Linked DNA regions of Homo sapiens: region 2 is linked to region 1. The links are contacts of gene promoters, found by promoter capture Hi-C in blood cells and fetal thymus (Javierre and others, 2016). All regions are on one chromosome and are shown on one strand. Each heading gives the region's core, a stretch centred on a gene start or on the middle of the fragment in contact. The rest is flanking DNA. Distances are from core to core; before and after follow the strand shown. Region 1 holds the start of FANK1 (fibronectin type III and ankyrin repeat domains 1). Region 2 overlaps C10orf90 (chromosome 10 open reading frame 90).

Region 1 (3,017 bases), core at 286-2,785:
TTATGTGTTCTGTATATATCACGCTGCTTGTCAATATCCACACATAAACCTTCTTGTTTTGACAATTAATCTGAAAAAGTCCCCATATAGTCTGAGAGGGGGAAAACCTAATTTGGAAGAATATAATAAATGTCAGTTTCCATCACAGAATATATGCTTCTCAAGTTCAATTAACCTCTCAATGATTCCCTAAGAGGAAAGTAATTCTCCTTAGTGTCCTTGTCATCCATGGAGTGGAAATCTTTCTACTGGCAAGATTAGTAATCACTTCCATGACCCCCAAAACGGCTCTTCCTTCCATTTCCCTCAAGTACTGTCTGGAGCAGCGGTTGGAATTAATAGAGGGGCCATAATCTCCAGACCTGAATACCAAATCAATCCTGCAGCCCCCCACACCCTTAATGCCCCTGCACTTTCTTGCTTATCCTTTTTCTCTCGTCTCCATTTTTCTTTCCTCCTTCTGGTGTTCCGGAACCTATGATACTCTCCTGGTTGTTTGAATTTTTACAACCTACCAGATAATAATCTCTTGTGATCCTCAAAGCTTCCTTAAAGCAAACCCTGAATCACTGTGTTTTAAAACCAGTATGAAAGACTATTGTGTGGGATAATGTTACATTGTTTCACAGCCCTACAAAGTTTGGCCACAAAACGTGTGGGCAGATTCCGTAACTCAACCGGAAACGCGAAGGACTGAAACAAATCAACACACAAAAAACGAAGCCAGCGAGAAAGATCCAACCCGGGCCCCCTGCCTGAAATGGGACACGGGGATGACGGGGCAAAGCCGGGCAAAACCGTGCTCCTGGCTCTCGCGATTCAGGAGACGCGCCAGGCTCACTGGGGACGACAGCGACGACGGCGGCGGCTCGCATTGCTCCACGCTTCCCGTCAGGGGGGCTCGAGGGACCGCCCCAGGCCCGGCCCATGCCCGGGCTCGGAGGGAGCCCCTGGTGCGAGGGCTGCCCGCAGGGCTCCGTCCTCCCGCTGAGGCGCGGCTCCCGGAGCAGGAGGCGCGGAGGCCGCCCTCGGCGTTTCGGAGTCGGGGCGGGGAACGTCCACGGCCAACTGCGGGCAGGGGACCCCCAGGCGGCTACAACAGGTGCGCCGGGGCCGCCCACCCGGCTCGGGGCGCGCCCGCCCCTGCGCCGACCCCCGACCCCTTCCGCCGCCGGGGCCCCGCTGTTACCTGCAGCGGCGGCTCCCGATTCCCGGGAGGGCGGCCCAGGGCCGGCGCCTTACCCGCGGGCAGGCCCACTCGCCCGACGGACGCCGCGGGTCGGCGACAGCGGGGACCGCGGGTCGGCGACGTCGGGGCACAGGTCCTGCGGGGCCGCGGGGGCCGCCAGGGAGGGCGCGACCGCCTGACCGGGCTTCAGGAGCAGTGTCCTCAGCCGGTGACCTGGCCGCTACCCTCGCTCAGTGTCCCCGGCGACGCGCGGGTCCTCACGCGCTCCCTCACTTCCTGCGGCTTTTGGTCCCTCCCGCTCGCCGTCCCTTTAGTTCTGCCCACTTCGCCTCCGGGTTGTCAGGGCAACCGTAGCGACGCCGGCCCTGGCTGAGAGGCGTTAGGAGTCCGGGGGTTCGCCCGCGGAGGCCGGGGAGCAGCCGACCATGGAGCCCCAGAGTAAGGGAGGCCCGGGCTGGAGCTGGGACCGGGGCGGGCGACCGGGCTGGGGCTCCCCGGGAACGAGTGTGGGCGCCCCGCGCGCGACTCCGCAGGTTTCAACGCTCGGACACGGAAATACGGTTTGCGTCTCCTCGCGCTTTTCTCTCCTGGAGAGGGGAGAAGGGGGCTACATCCTGCCAAGTCTGTATGGTTGGGCCGCCGGCGCCCTAGAGTCCGCGCTGGGGGCTGGGAGCGACTGGAGAGCCCCGAGGTATGGGTGGGGAAGGGCGCAGCGACCCCAGCGTGCGTCTTCCTGAAACTTCGCCCGGACGGTTCCATTTACTCCTCCTCCTACTCATGATTTTAGTTTGGTAGTTTGGTTCATTAATTGTAAGTAGCCCATTTTTCTTCTAAAATGTCAGCAATTAAACACGTCCGAGGCTGGGTCTTGTATTTATTAGAGACCCCGTCTTACTCCCCGCCCCCCGCCCCACACCCCTAGTCTGCGACTTGAAGGAGAGAGAGAGAAAAGAAGAGCTTTGTCCAAGTGTATTTGATTCATTCTTAGGGGTTCTACAAGTTAGGACACTCAAAAAATGTTTGTAATCTCTTTTTCTGTTTTCCCATGTTGCTTTCGATGTATGGCAAAAGTTGTGCAGTTTTGAGTTATCAGATCTAAACACGAGCTCTAACTTACTATTTTTGTTGTTGTTTTTACCTTTCCAGGGACTTTGTTTCAAGGCCTTTCTTTCTCTGCCCCGCCTAAGCTGTCTTATTGTTCCTTTTGTTCTCAAAATAAGGGGAGTGTTTTGTATGGAGACTTAAAATTTATCTAAAACCTTTATAGAAGGATGCAGTTTGACTCTCAAACCAAGTCGTCTTATCTTGTACAATTTCAGAAATGAAGAACTCAGACCAAATCTATTCTCTGGGGAAAATGTTGGCATTTTTAAAGGTCATTCGTTTTCCACCAAGAAAGTTTCAAATACTTTTCCTTTTAACTCATTTGCTGAGGAGAAAGCTTGCAAGTTGTGACTTATAGTTGCTTGATAGATTTTGTACAGTATTTGTCATTTGCATTTACAGCTCTTTGGATTCTACATTTTTTTAACCTAGTAAAAGAAATTTAGCATACAAGAACGCTAAAATTTTTGTTTTATGTCAAACTGATGGCAGGCTGTGTATATTCCCGCCTTAGAGAAGTGAGTTGAAATATACCTTTTAAAAACAGCAACTTGGCCTGGCCCGGTGGCTCACGCCTGTAATCCCAGCACTTTGGGAGGCTGAGGCAGGCGGATCACGAGGTCAGGAGATTGAGACCATCTTGGCCAGCATAGTGAAACCCATCTCTACTAAAATACAAAAAAAAAAAAAAAAAAAAAAAAAAAAAAAAAAAAGCCAGGTGTGG
Region 2 (3,017 bases), core at 141-2,640, 600 kb after region 1:
AAACACATATTTTCAATCTGGCCCTTCACAAACAAAAGGGAAAAAGAAAAGTTTGCTGATCCCAATTCTAGATCATTGAAGAAAAAAAATCACATTTGTAAAATATCTTCTGGTCCCTCTAGTAAAAAAAGTCCTCATGGGATGAGAGTGGGAGTCTAATGCAGGCTTCTCCCCTACAGGTAGGCTTGGCTTGTGTGTACATGGTTTGTTATCTGCCCTTGAGTGGCGTAAGTGAGATAAGCCTCACTCGCTATTAATGTGGCAGACCATACCATCTAAGTGTGAGTAGGCACAGTGCTCATTTGGAGACCTGGCAAGGACTTCTGCCTTCCAGTCATCCACATCTTTATTCACTAGTGATGCTAAACTCCACCGAGGACATCTCAGACCAATGCCACCAAAGCCTGTGAACTGACTGAGGGAGTTGCAACATGGGCCCACCATAGAACGCGAACGCAAATAGATGTGGACAGCGTATTCACTAGTCTCCTCTTCAATAGCATCTACCATCATCAGAAGATTTTGCTCCCTCTACTTGGATATCTCAGAAATGGTAAAAAGCTTCAGATTTAAGCCACAGATGCACAATAAAATTGGCAGTAAGAAATGTGTCTAAGTCAATAGTGAGTCAGGCATGCACATCCGGTGAGGTGGGAACCATTTGGATCAACACTGTATATTTCACAGACCACCACAAAGAACTGGATTTCAGGCTGAGGAGGATTTCTGAGCCAATACATTTTAATCGCATAAAATGATATGGCTTATTACATTTTTTCATAAATTAACTTGCAGTTCACTCTCCTAATAGTCTACCGGGGTAACTGGCAACCAAATACCAGTATTACTCCAGATGTTCATAAGCAGCCTTCAGATACCACCTTTGGTAGTGGCAGAGGAGGTGGGGCCTGCCGTTGAGTCACCACCATCTTAATTGCCCTGCCTGGGGCTGTCACTGAGAAGGGAACAGCAGGAGACAAGTACACAGCTCTAGCACCAATTGGCCACGTGGACTTGGGCAAATCATTTAATCTTCAAGCCTCATTTGTGTTGTGTGAAAAATAAAGATAATGATACTCTTTACAGATGGTTGAATGATTCAAAATAATGGATGCAGCCCAGGGCCTGGTGCCTAGGACTTCTAGAACATATGTTGTGGTTATGAATAAGATGATGATGATGACGATGATGATGGTGATGATGACAAGAATGGGGATTAAATTTTTTATGATAGATTCGAAGATTTGCCCAATGCCCACCTACTTGGTGCTATCTGAATGCTTACCAGTAGTAGAGATGTAAAGACAAAACATACAGGGACTGAGGAGATGAGCAAAGAGAGAACCAATTTCTTAACATTCAGCCTGAGATGAGAGCAGGTGCTCACGCGTCTATTGGAATGCTATGTCTCAGTAGAAACAGCTATTTGAATTGCATGATGTGCTTGTGTCTCATTTTTCCTCATCTTCTCTTTTGGGTGCATATCCTGGAGGCTCATTCATGAATACAATTTGTAGAACTTTCTGTCCAACGACCTAATGACTAGAACTAAAATTGCTTTGCCTCTGTTTGTAGAATTGCCCAGGCTGTACCCACCAAGCAGCTGAATGTCAGTAAGCCAGCCAACAGAAGATCCTGCTCATGAGGTATTTTGGAATCCTTCAGATACAAAGAATCAGATTCAGTAACTATGAAGTAAGAAGACTGCTAATAGCATGTGTAACCACAGGAGGCTGTCAAGAATGTCTCAGATAGGATTCCAGTTTCAGACAGGAAAATATAAACAGTTCCTCTGAGTTTTAATGAGCACTGCTGCAGTCTGAAAGCTCTTGCATTAAGGCTAAAGGTTTTGTGGAATCTGAAGGTCAGCAAGCTCACCCTCCACACGTTGTGCAGGCTGTGCAAGGACAGCCCGTGGTCATTAGAGTCAATGAGCTGTGCTGGTAAATTTCAGGCCAGAATTCTACAGCATGGACAGATGTGCTTTCTTGTCACCTGAGAAGAAATAGAGTCCACTGGAAATTATTTCTGAGTGAGGGAGCACACAGCCAGGGGTGCACGTGTAGGTGAAGGTGTGCATTTGTAGGCATCCGAGGCAAGTGCCCCACAGCACACCCCAGGGCTCTGTGGCTTTGGACTTTGCAACTGAGGGGTCCAGAATCCCACGGAGCCTCTTTTCTTTACAGAGTCCACCTTGGGCAAATAGAGCTGAAATTTTTTAAGCTTGATGGGACCTCGAAAACACCCAATCTACCCCCTGCTCTAGTTACCCAGATGAGGAGTTCAGAGAGTATCACTCCTCCACATTCACTGAGCTAGAAATAATAGATCAGCAACTCCACAAAAAGTTCTTCCAAATGTGGTCTATATATACACCATGGACTACTACTAAGCCATTAGAAGGAATGAAATCATGTCTTTTGCAGCAACTTGGTTGAAGCTGGAGGCTATGATTCTAAGTGAAGTAACATAGCAGTGGAAAGCCAAAAACCGTATGTTCTCATAAGTGGGAGCTAAGCTATGAGTACGCAAAGGCATACAGAGTGATATGATGGACTTCAGAGACTCAGAAAGGGGAGGGTGAGAGGTGGGCCTAGGGATAAACACACACACACACACCACATATACACCACACACACACACCACACACGCATACACACACACCACACACACACACCATACACACACACCACACAACCACACACCCACACCACACACACGCACACACACACCACACACACACACCACACAACCACACACACACCACACACACACACACCACACACACACAACACACACACACACTAGGTGCAATATACACTACTTGGGTGACGGGTGCCCTAAAATCTCAGAATTCACCACTGTAAAATTCATCCATGTAACCAAGAACCACTTGTACTCCCAAAGCTACTGAAATTGTAAAAAAGGTATTCAAGACTCCCCTGGTGTCTGTGACTATCTCTTTCCTCAAATGGTAGAATGAAGCCTCATGGCTTAAAGCCACTGAAACGCTTCAC

What was found. The method cuts DNA at HindIII sites, captures the fragments that hold promoters and counts their contacts. A CHiCAGO score of 5 or more calls a contact.
Region 2: a contact is called between a fragment that was not itself captured here and the fragment with the promoter of FANK1 in region 1, in 1 of 17 cell types (M1 macrophages). The highest score is 5.3, in M1 macrophages.

The regions. Positions count from the first base shown.
Region 1 is chr10:125,895,029-125,898,045 of GRCh38, forward strand. It overlaps FANK1 (fibronectin type III and ankyrin repeat domains 1), which reads left to right and starts at 1,536. Exons shown (of 11, transcript NM_145235.5): 1 at 1,536-1,627. The coding sequence starts at 1,615. It also overlaps a transcript of DHX32 not described here. RefSeq lists silencers at 1,041-1,120, 1,341-1,420, 1,581-1,720, 1,812-2,106. The HindIII fragment of the contact is 2,086 bases long and covers 543-2,628 here.
Region 2 is chr10:126,499,340-126,502,356 of GRCh38, forward strand. All of the region lies in intron 4 of C10orf90 (chromosome 10 open reading frame 90), which reads right to left. LOC105378549 (a long non-coding RNA gene) reads left to right here. Exons shown (of 3, transcript XR_001747637.3): 2 at 1,576-1,646. Among named protein-coding and RNA genes, the nearest start is that of LINC00601, 79 kb to the left of the region's middle. The HindIII fragment of the contact is 1,662 bases long and covers 560-2,221 here.